Linked DNA regions of Homo sapiens: region 2 is linked to region 1. The links are contacts of gene promoters, found by promoter capture Hi-C in human tissues and cell types (Jung and others, 2019). All regions are on one chromosome and are shown on one strand. The core of a region is centred on a gene start or on the middle of the fragment in contact, and the rest is flanking DNA. Distances in the headings are between cores, read along the strand shown. Region 1 holds the start of OTOR (otoraplin). Region 2 has its middle 74 kb from the start of KIF16B.

The links. Contacts are between HindIII fragments. The study calls those that stand out against the background at their distance.
Region 2: a contact is called between a fragment that was not itself captured here and the fragment with the promoter of OTOR in region 1, in 2 of the 25 tissues and cell types used here (H1 embryonic stem cells and IMR-90 fibroblasts).

What each region holds. Positions count from the first base shown.
Region 1 is chr20:16,744,630-16,750,765 of GRCh38, forward strand. It overlaps OTOR (otoraplin), which reads left to right and starts at 3,729. Exons shown (of 4, transcript NM_020157.4): 1 at 3,729-3,887; 2 at 4,238-4,377; 3 at 5,274-5,381. The coding sequence starts at 3,773. The HindIII fragment of the contact is 9,309 bases long and covers 1-6,136 here.
Region 2 is chr20:16,644,095-16,650,230 of GRCh38, forward strand. No RefSeq gene overlaps it. Among named protein-coding and RNA genes, the nearest start is that of KIF16B, 74 kb to the left of the region's middle. The HindIII fragment of the contact is 5,222 bases long and covers 964-6,136 here.

The sequences.
Region 1 (6,136 bases), core at 2,479-4,978:
CTTTTCTTGACATCTCCTTGTCCCTGCTGGTTTCTTCACTTTTTACTGCCTGGACCAGATCCTGTTCTGGTCAGCAGGGTGGTGACCAGAAAACAAGTTCTTCTGGTCTCCTACCTCAGTTGCAAGAAACTCAAAACTCCATTTTAAACTTTAAGCCTTATAGTATCTTCTGTTTGAGTATTTAACAAGCATTTGTTTTTCCTTGAAAATATATCCAGCCAAGACCTTATGAAGAATGTGAGCTAAAATTACGGTATTTTACTTGCCTGGAAACAGTACTTCTCAAATGTTAATGTGCATACAGGTGACTTGAGTATCTCATTAAAACGTAGATTTAGATTGTGTCTCCGGGGTGAGGTCTGAGAAACTTCATTTCTATAAAGTGATGTCAAAGTTACTGGTCTGGGGACCATGTTTTGGTGGCAAGTTGCAAGACCCCAGAGTTTCTACCCTAATGATTTATTCAATGACTCTTAGAGGTGTTATCAATCTGTTTTTAAAGCCAGGGACTTTGCCCAGGGGAAAAATGCATGCATACACACACACACACACACACACACACACACACACCCCTATGCGTACAATTTCGGAGCAATTGTGCATTCATTCAGTGAATACCTATTTAATGCACACCAAGTATCTTTCCGGGTGCTAATGACAGAGTGAGGAACAAGATAGCAAAGATGCCTGCCTTGTGGAGCTTTCATTATACTGTTGGTTGGAAGACAAACTAAGTAAATAAAGCAGGCATGTCAGCTATGATACATGCCTTAGGACAGTGTACTGCAGCCACGTGATACAGGGATTGGGTGGAGGAAGGTTTGAAGTGGCTCTTTTAAATTGTTCTGTCTGTGGAGGCATCTTGGCCAGGAACCTGAATGCCAGTATCTGGGGAAAAGCATCCTAGGTGGTAAGTTCGGAGCACCTGAAGCAGAAATGAGTTTAGTGTTTTCAAAAGTTAGAGAGAACTGGTATGGGAGGAACAGAGCGAGTGGAGGAGAGAGCAAAAGGTGAAATCCCAGAGGTAGAAGGGCCTGATCCTACAGGAGCTTGTAGGCCATGACAAGGAGGCTGCCTGCACTTGACCGAGCCCATGCTTAGATCCTAAAGGAGCCATGGCCTCCATTTAAGAACTCCAGACAGAGAATCTAATTTAGGAACTGAAGGGGAAAAATGTCATTTAGGGATTGAATGTTTGGAGAATACGTCTGAAAATCTAGAGGAACGAGTATGAAAACTGGGGCCAGAACCCTCACTGAACCCCCAGTGGCCCCAGTGTCTTTGGCATAACTGCCAGACACAGCTACTTGCTGAATTATTGCAAGTTCAAATTCCTATTTGCATGCAATTTTACCAAGAAGCCTCTAGCTTCTGTCCTGTGTCTGCCACTTTAGAATGCCAGAACACCACAAGCTTTCCCAGGCTGCACTCAGAAGGCTTGGTTATCTCATTACTTTATTTCTTCACCTTCAAATGTCCAATAATGGCTTCACGTTAGCATTAGCCTGATTTTCTAAGTTGTGATAGCTTGAATGTCACATTTTGCTTTTTGTTTTTAATCATTTTATCCTGCTTTTGGGGATCTGTATATGCTCCCCAATGGGGAGTTTTTGCAGTCCCCATTTCTTCAAGTGCCTCTTAAATGACAATTGTCTTTTAACTCTCCTATGCTGAGGGCTGGTTTGAGACTGGAACAGTCCATAAAACAGCTGCGCAATCAGGATTAAGAAGATTTAATCAATGCTTTAGTTTTCCCAGAAATTTAGACCTTTAGATTGATTACAGGGGAAAAATTGGAAAGGCATTCTGCTTTCAAAAATAATATCGAATTCAATCTTTCCTTGATGTGAAACAGGAAATAAATGATTTATTCTAATTTGTCAATTCCAAGTTGACAACAATGAATTGAAATAGCATTGAACCATGATCCCTCTGGTAACCTTTAGATAGGATGGTTCAAAATGACCACTTTAGGACAGGTGCGGTGGCTCATGCCTGTAATCCCAGCATTCTGGGAGGCTGAGGAGGGCGGATCACTTGAGGTCAGGAGTTTGAGACCAGGCTGGCCAATATGGTGAAACCCCGTCTCTACTAAAAATACAAAAATTAGCTGGGCATGGTGGTGCACACCTGCCAGCCCAGCTACTTGGGAGGCTGAGGCAGCAGAATTGCTTGAACCCTGGAGACAGAGGGTGCAGTGAGCCGAGATTGCACCAGTGCACTCCATCCTGGGTGACAGAGCAATACTCCATCTCGGAAAAAAAAAAAAAAAAAAAAAGCAACAAAAAACAAAAAGACCACTCTGGCATTTGCTGTGCCTCAGTTTCCTTGTCTATAATGAAGGTATGAATAAAACAGACTTTCCAATCAGGACCAGCTATATAAAAGATCCTCCCTTGAAAGTCACACACACATACACACACAGCCACACACACACACTCACACACAGCCACACATACCCACACCCATACCCACACCAAAACTCTTTTACATACACACACAGATGCACTCAAACCAATACAACTCTATCACACACACACATATACCCAAAACAAAAAACCTTTTTATTATATTTTGCCTTACCCATTTATCCCTTGGGAAATTGTATTGCACAAAATTATTTAGTAAGTTAAATTCTTGTCCCTCATTTTATGAGGTTACGACTTTGGGGTTGGGGGAGAAGGCACTGCTCCGAAGTCACATCATCAACCAAGGTGGAGAAGGCATCCTGAGAGGATCTCTATTCTAGAAGCAATGGATAAGAACAGGGGAAGGGCCACCTTATGGGAGAGATGCCAGCCTCAAACACCCTATAAAAAGCAGTAACTTACTGTCTGTCTCTTCTAATAGAAAGCAACACTTGGGGCCAAAATATTTTTTTTAAATTTACTGCTATATCTTTAGTGCCCAGAACTATACCTGGCACAGTAAGTGCTCAGTAAATATTTGCTGAATAGACGGAGCTAGGGACTGGCGGTTCCACTTTGGTGCCTCTAGGAGTGCTCCTCTCCCCATGGGAAACATGCTCAGAAGCAGGAAGTTCCAGGTAACATAAACTTGTAACTTCACTCTCTTCTCTTTGACCTGTCACCCTTGAGCATTTGAGACTGAATTGCAAAAGTCTTAGAGAGAAGAGGTAGGGGAAAGATTGACCTATTTTTCCCAACCCACCCATCTCTTTCCCCACTGGTAGGGTCTAAATGGGGCATCAATTAGTATGTTAGAATTCATCTCTAGCCTGGGACAGGCATGCCTTCTAAGAATCCTATCATGAAAGATTTGTAAGCATAAGAATCTTTCATTTATCTATTACGTAAATCCAGATTTATTAATTGAATTTGTTTAAATCAAATTATTTGTGCTATAGATCTCACATTTTCAACAAATTCCTACAACTAGTATGTCTTTGCTCATAAGCTGAAGGAAAATTAGGGGTGAATTAAAACTAAAAATGGTTTGAAATTCTCATAGTCCTCTCAGCAAAGCCCTACTGATTGATACAATAGACCACTGCTAAAGCGGCTTTAACAATAGTGGACCATTTTGGATATTATCTGTGTATAGAAAGACACAGAGTTTGACTCTGTTTGGAAAATCAGACGCTAAATAGCCCCTGAAGCCGAGCAGCCTGTTATGAAAACGGAGGGGTGGTAGGCCCTTCTAATTGGCCAGGGTATTTACCCAGAGCTCTGGCTTTCACATAAAAGGCAGGAACCACTGAAGTCAGTCCCCGCTTCCAGTCAGAGTTCAAGTTAAAACAGAAAAAAGGAAGATGGCAAGAATATTGTTACTTTTCCTCCCGGGTCTTGTGGCTGTATGTGCTGTGCATGGAATATTTATGGACCGTCTAGCTTCCAAGAAGCTCTGTGCAGATGATGAGTGTGTCTGTAAGGACTTTTTTATGCTTTTCATTATCTTTCTATTACATAATTGAAAATATATCCACTAATAGCATAAAATCGAATTATACTTTGAAGTGAATCTTCTCCAATGTGTATGTTATCAGCTTTGTTTCTTCTGGTCTGCATGTTTGGTATCTTACTACGGAGAATTCACTTGGCTGAGTTTTGTTGCAGCTTTAATATCTTGGCTGTCTTCTTTCTCTTGGATAGACACCAGCTATGAACTGGGAATTATCAGTCACTCTGATTTTCTAGTTTTTCTAATATACATTGCCTTTTACTGTTATAAAATTCAGGAGCCTAAAATGTAATCATTTAAATTTTTTTTCTTCCAGATACTATTTCTCTGGCTAGTGCTCAAGAAGATTATAATGCCCCGGACTGTAGATTCATTAACGTTAAAAAAGGGCAGCAGATCTATGTGTACTCAAAGCTGGTAAAAGAAAATGGAGCTGGAGAATTTTGGGCTGGCAGTGTAAGATAATTTAAACACCTATTGACGAATATTGCTCTTAACCTTTCCTTGATTACCTACCTTCAACCTATTTTAATGCTTAATACTAGTTGTTAAGAACCATGTAGTGATTGTAGATGGAAATGCAAAAATTCAGGTATATTTGCTATTGCATTTTAAAGAAAGAAAGATCAATTTCGTAACAAAACCAAATGTAGGTTAATGTGATATTTTGGTAAAAAAAGAGTCAAATACATGGGGGCTTAAACATCCCAAAGAATTTGAATCTTATCCGAAAACGTCTGAGAAGATTTGCCAAGTAGAAGGCATGTGTGTTGGCAGTGAGTCTAAGTATCAATATTCTTTTAGGAAACTTTGCACCCTAATTAATTCGAAAGAATCAGCGTTCTTCAGTTAAAATATACAGGGGCGGTCCCTGGGGAGGGATGAAGCAGGGATGATTTTCTGTCCTCATCTGCAACCCTAAAGGTAAGTTCTAAATTAATGAAGGATTAAATTTAAAGCCATTTAAGTCTGTTCATTTGAATTGTTGAAAACTGAGAAATTTGCATCATTTAAAATAAGTGTCTACAGTACTTTAAAAAAATGTACTGTCTTTATATATTTATTTATGGGTTCAAAAAAGATTTCAGGCAACTCACAAGATTGCGTAAAATAAAGTCATGCTAAAGTAGCGAAATAAGACTGGGCCACTAAACAGTAGATGCACAATTCCTGCGGGTTAACTTAGTGCTCCAAGTAAACTTCGGATTTGCCGCAGCGCCCCCTGGACCCCGGAGTGAAAGGGAGGTATTGGCAGCTATGATTCTCACTATCAGCAAAGAGGACGCCTGCGAGTTTCTCAGAAGACACTCAGCATCAGCTTTTTCCTGATTGCTATTCTTCTGGGCACTTAGGTTTATGGTGATGGCCAGGACGAGATGGGAGTCGTGGGTTATTTCCCCAGGAACTTGGTCAAGGAACAGCGTGTGTACCAGGAAGCTACCAAGGAAGTTCCCACCACGGTAAGCATCTCAAAAGTGACTAGACAAGGACTCAGATCTTGGGGCAATGTAGGCCGGTGTTAAAAATGCATCATGCAACTTACAAGTTGTATAGAACAAAGCCTCCAACTTTCAGTGGCGACTTTTCTGAGATAATGAGGTTTGGGGGACCATTTATAACTACTGTCAAAGTTGAAAGATGAGTAAACTTTCTCTATACCACCCCCTTTTGTTTTATTTCAGTTTACTACTTTTTGTCTCATCTTTTTTCTATATTTTTTCAGCTTTATTGGGTTATAATTGACAAATAAAAATTGCATACATTTAATGCATACATTATGTTTTGATATACATTGTGAAATGATCATCACATTCAAGCTAGTTAACACATACATCACCTCACATAGTTACCTTTGTGTGTGTGTGTGTGTGTGTGTGTGAAAACATTAAGATCTGCCCTCTTAGTAAATTTCAAGTATACAATACAGTACCTCTTTTGTTTTAGATGCAAGTTGTCTTGCAAAGCAGTCTATGTAACAAATAAAGAAACCAAAGTCAGCACTGACTCTTACAGATGGTTTTCACTAAAGATAGGCTGAAAAAAAATTATTATGTTTTTGATCAAATCGAAATATTCTAGAACAATCTTTGAATGTCTTATTTTTGTGGTAAATAGATTCTATTTATGTATGAAATAAAGTTATACTCTTCCTAATGCCCTGGGGTCCTGTAAACTCAGGACAGAAATAAAAGATGCTTTCTGAGCTACTTTGCAA
Region 2 (6,136 bases), core at 2,325-4,824, 100 kb before region 1:
AGAAACCTCCTAGATAGTAGGAAACCAGAAAGAATTCTGAGACAGTGGTTAGAGCACCTGCTTAGACATTTATTTACTATTATGATTCTAAGCAAGTCAACTGAACATGTCGGTAAATACTGAAATACTTCTACTGACATTACTATATGAAACTTTGTTTTTTGTTCTTTTGTTGTTTGCTACATAAAACTTTGATAAACTTTGTTTAACTTTATCTGGCCATCCTCCATCTCCCTCCAGGTGAAGCTTCTGTTTTTTAGGAAACCACTCCCCCAACTCTTGGTCAAATTTCATGTGAAGATGACCCCAACCACCCCTGGATGTAGCAGTGGTCAGATGATCCAGTATTGGAAAATCCACATATTCAATAGATCCCCAAAGAAATTGGTCCAGCAATGGGGACAGGACCCAAGCAAACCTAATGACTTTATTCTGTGATGCCTCTTTGACCACTTGGAAAAGAGAAGTCCTCTTTCCTAGGGTATTGCTAGCCATAGGAAGGGTATAAGCCTGAAGATACAGTGGCCAATCCGATAATTATGTCACTATAAAGGAAAGCAGTAATGGGCCATGTGGAAAGAGGATGAGGACCCATGAAGATGTTGTTTGAACTGAATCTAGCCATGCCTATTATGTGAGTTAATAAATTCCTTTTTGTTTAACTCTATTTAAGTTGGAGAACTTATACATGAAAGAATTCTAATGCCATCAACAAGTTATGTCAGCTTTAGCTTCAGATTTTATCCCAATCAAATCCGTTACTCATCCGCTCTGCTGTTTCCATCCAAATCCAAGCCAGTATAATGTGTCCACATGTTGTAGTTTCCAAAGAGTAGCTTGTAGCCTTTTTTTTTTGCTAGATTTTTTTAATTTTTTTTCTTTTTAAAATTCTCAATTAAAAATAATGTATAATTTACAAAAAATTTGAAAAATCAGTACAAAGGTTTCCTGCTTACCCTTTACCCAGCTTCTCCAAATATTAACCTCCTAATCCATCGCAGATGATGTGTTAATTCCATGAAGTTAATACTGATACAATACTGTTAATTAACCTACAGGCTTTAATCAAGCGTCACCAACTGTTGCACTAACATTCTGTTCCTGGACAAGGTTCCAATCCAGGATCACAAGTTAATATAGTTGTCTTGTCTCCTTGAGCCTAACTTAATCTGGGACCATTCCTCAGTCTTCATGATTTTGTGGCTCTGAGAGTTTTGAAGAGGCTATGTCAGTTATTTTACAAAATTTCCCTCAATTTAGGTTTGTCTGATGTTTCTTCAAGATTAAGTTCAGGTCATATATTGTTGGCAAGAAAGGCACAGAGGTGACATTGTGTCCTTCTCGGCACATTATATCAGGAGGTACATGGTGTTGCAGAGCAGGGGTCAGCATATTTTTCTGTAAAAGACCAGATAGTAACTATTTCAGAGTTGGGACAACACATGCCATCTCTGTGGCATATTTTTCTTTGTGTTTGTCCCGGTGCATTTATAACGTTTTAAAAGTGTAAAATGTATTCTTAGTTCCTGGTACACAGAAGTGGACTGAAGGCTGGATTTGGCCCATAGGCCAAAGGACCCCAGCTGTAGAGGAAACCTTGGAAAACATAAGCTGTAAGGGCATGCCTCTGCTTCAACTCCTCTTCCCCCACATTTGTTTTTTTACTTCATTTAGTAAAAGCTTGAGTCCTGTATTAGTTCTCTGCAGAAACAGAACCATGGAATGAAAAGCATGTGCGTGTGTGTGTGTGTGTGTGTCTGTGTGTACAGAGAGAGAGAGACAAAGAAAGAGTGAGAGAGATCTACTTTGAGGAATTGGCTCACTTGATTATGGAGGCTGGCAAGTCTAAAATCTGTAAGGTGGGCTATTAGGCTGGAAACCCAGGGAAGAACTGATGTTGCAGTTGAAGTCAAAGGTTGTCTGCTGGCTGAATTTCCTCTTGCTCTGGTGAGATCAATATTTTGTTCTTTTCAGACTTTCAATGGATTCAATGAAGTCCATCCACAATATGGAGGCTAATCTGCTTTTCTCCAAGTCCACCATTTAAATGTCAAGCTCACTCAGAAATACCCTCACAGAAACATTGAGCATAATGTTTGATGGAATATCTGTGTGCTGTCGCTCAGCCAAGCTGACAAATAAATGTAACTATCATCAGTTCTTACCAAAGCTTGTAGGGCCCTTCGTGATCCAGTCCCAGTAACTTCTCCAACCTTCCTTTCACACTCTCCTACTTGATAACTGTGCTAGGTCTAGACCAGTACTTCTCAGACTCTCCTGTGCCTCAGGCTCACCTGCAGGGCTTTTGAAAACAGATTTCTGGACCCTATACCCAGAGTTTCTGATTCAGTAGGTCTAGGGTGGCGCCTAAGAATTTGCACTTCCAAAAATTTCTCAAGTGATGCTGATGCTGCTATCCTATGGTTCACACTTTGAGAATCACTGTTGTAGATATGTTCTTCTTCTTTCTCAACAAACAAAAACAAACAAAGCACTCTTTCAGCCCAGAGCCTTTGTCTGGATGTTCCTTCTGCCATGAAGAATCTTTCCCTAGATAGTTGCAGAAAGTTCGATATTGGTAAATGGTTAATGACTGACTCTAAACAAACAAACAAACAAACAAAAGCCTCTTTCACAGCATTTGCTGGTTTCTAGTGTGTAATTCCTCCTACCTGATTTTGAGATACCAATATGATGCCCCTGAATGTGGAGTTGGGAAGAGATGTTTTCCACTGGTTCTTGAGGTCCAGTGTGAGCTGGCTCAGCACACCACTGTTTGAGTGACACTTTCAAGTCTCTGCTCAATGCAACCTCCCCTGAGAGGCTTCCCTGACCATCTGATAAAACAGCACAACTGTCCGCCAACCCTTCTATTTCTTTTTATTTTAGTTCATTGCATTTATTTCTACCTACTGTAGGTTTCTTCCCCTACTAAGTAGTAAACTCCAAGAAAGCAACATTTTTTTTTTTTTGTCTAATTCCATGCTGTATTGTGACCTCAGTGCCTAGGTGGCAGTAACTATTTGGTTCAATGAATGAATGAATAAATTTGTCTATGTATTTGGTGTCAGTCTCCCATATTAACCCACTGGTAATTCCACTAGGGTGAGGGTTTTGTCTAATTTTCTTCACCATTGCATCTTCATCCCTGACACACAACAAGTAAGGAAGGCATAATTTTTGAATATTTTATTTCTTAGAAATGGAGTCTAACTACACTTCCCAGGCTGAACTTGAACTCCTGGGCTCATTTAATTCATCAAGTTGTGAGAATAACAAAGAAAGTGGGAAATTATGATACAAACGTATAAAGAGCTTTACACCTATCCAGCCTCTAAACATGTGGAAGGAAAATGTCTAGCTCTGTGATGGAGGGAGCAGAGACAAGGAAGATCTTGGGACACCTCTCCCATTTTAATAATCCTATTTGCCAGTGGGAAGAAGCAAACACTTTAAGTGGAATCTGTCTCAGGGTCTGCTGGTAGGAGAACCCAAACTGAGGCACAGGGCTATGGGGTTATGATTACTTTTCTTGGTTGCTACTCTTCAGTTTACAGTTGAAGAAGCTACAACCTTCACACAAGTTATGAGAGCACAAGATTGACAAGGCTACCTTCCTCCAAAGAAGTGTTTGCAGCAGCTATTTGGAGGGAGCTCCAATCCAAGAAGCCAGAACTTAGCAAAACATTCTAAGGATCAAGAGCAAATACCCTGTTACAGAAGTAACCCTTTTATAAGTTGGCTTGTCAGACCATGTCCCTGAAAAGGCAAAACTATTCAGGGAACCTGGTGAGTGTCAGCCCGAGAAATATGGGCAGCTCATCTACATATCTTTTAGTGACCTTCTGGAATGACAGCCAAGCCACCAACGCTTCCCTGTTTGCAAATGATAGAGATCTCATTTCTGGGGACGACAGGATTGATGTGGCAGCCGCAGTGCCATTAGACCTGGAAGATGCTCTTTTCTCATTACTGTCTCCTGGCAACATAGCACCAGATGCCGCCGTGAATATTAATGATCCTCATTCATGTAACCTTTAGTGCCTTCCTTCAAATCACCCAGGCTGCAGCCGGGGACTGCTGCTATCTGTTTCTGCTGTTTCCATCTCAACAAATCTCTTCTTCTCCTCCTGTTTGAGAAAAGAATTATTAATGAGATTTTTATCTAAGGAGAGGGTTTCTGCCTCTTGATGGAGATGCTCACTTTCCAAGCCATACCCATATTTGCTAACAAAGATAACGGCATCCCCATTCTGCTGGAGCTTGTGACGAATCACTTTCATTGACTTTATCTGCTGGATGGAATATGTAATTTGTCTAATATCTTTGCATCTTCAAATGCAGGGCTTAAAACTAAACATGGAATTGGGCAAAAGCGGAAATTAAATATGACCAGACTCTCAGTGGGGTTCATGCTCTTTATCAGCTTTCACCAACTGCAGGGCTGGCATCATGCATGTAACGATGGGTCACCCCAGACTCTGTCTAACTCGAGTTCCTTGGCTTCTCACACAAAGGCCTACCCTTGGAAAGGCAAGGAATATCAAATTGCTTCCACCCGGGCTGCCTAACTCCTTTAGCCCTTTGCTTTGTTTCTTTGGATCTCTGAGATATTGGCCAGAGGTTCTTCCTGAGGGTAATTTAAGGCACTTCAGATAGTAGAATATCCCCACTTTTCCCTCTGTTTCTTCCCTTCCTCTGGTATTTTGTGATAGGTATAATTAGTGGTTTCAGAATACAAACTTTAGAGGGAGCCAGGTGCATGCATGAATCCTGGCTCTGGGATCCTGAGCCTGTTCCTCAAACTCACTGAACCTCGGTTTCATATCTGTAAAGTGCGAATAAAGGCACCTAATGCACCCGGTTTTTCAACACATTAAGTGATATAACATATGTGAAATGCTTAGTCCAGTGTCTGGTATATAGTTAGGACTTTAAAAATGGTTGCCTGGTGTGGTAGATTGTTTTATCAATGGCCCTTGATGAAACAGTCTTCCTGGTATGGGGCATGACTCACCTTGACTTTATTTTTTTTTTAATTTTTAATTTTTTTTGAGACAGAGTCTCGCTCTGTCGCCCAGGTTGGAATGCAGTGGCACGATCTCGGCTAACTGTAGCCTCCACCTCCCGGGTTCAAGCGATTCCCCTGCCTCGAACTCCTGACCTCAGGTGATCCACCCACTTCGGCTTCCCGAAGTGCTAGGATTATAGGAGTGAGCCACCACGCCTGACCTCATCTTGATCAGATCCTTAAGATAGTTGCTAAAGAAGATGTGCATGGTGCAAAGCATATTTATACACTGTTCTTAGGGGAACAGTGTTCTACTCAGATGGAACCCTATGTTGGCCTCTTGATACTTGTTAGCTTTTCTAATGTGCATTCAAGAAATCATTGAGCTGAGGAAATGAGTTTACGAACCAATCCAGCTCTTCTTTCCTGCCTTAGATGGAGATTTGTGGGTGTTCTAGGTCATCAGAGGGATAAAAGCTTCTGGAATCTCCTGTTCCTGAGAGCTTAGATAGAGGGCAATCTTGTTGATGCCTTCTTACTCCCTCAGGGCTGACTTTGTCTCCCAGTGGAGTAAGTTACCACACACCCGAAATGGTCCCCAAGTTTCCATCATTAGAAATATATTTATTGGCCAGGCATGATGGCTCACGCCTATAATCCCAGCACTTTGGGAGACCAAGGCAGGTGGATCACCTGAGGTCAGGAGTTCAAGACCAGCCTGGCCAACATGGTAAAACCTCGTCTCTACTAAAAATACAAAAATTAGCTGGACATGTTGGTGTGTGGCTGTAATCCCAGCTACTTGAGAGTCAGAGGCAGAAGAATCACTTGAACCCAAGAAGCAGAGGTTGCAGTGAGCCGAGATCACTCTATTGTACTCCAGGCTGAGCAACAGAGCAAGACTCTGTCTCAAAAAAATATAAAAAACAAAAAAACTCCACTCACATTTGTTTAGGTTAAACTTTGTAGACTCTAAAAGCCTCCTAGAAAATTCAGATATCCTCAAAGGATGTCACATTCATCCAGTTAACTCCTCACTGTGAGACAGGACATTTATATTGTTGGGCGGCCAACATGGAGGCATTGCTCTAGGGCAGTGCTATCCAACAGAACTGTAATGCGAGC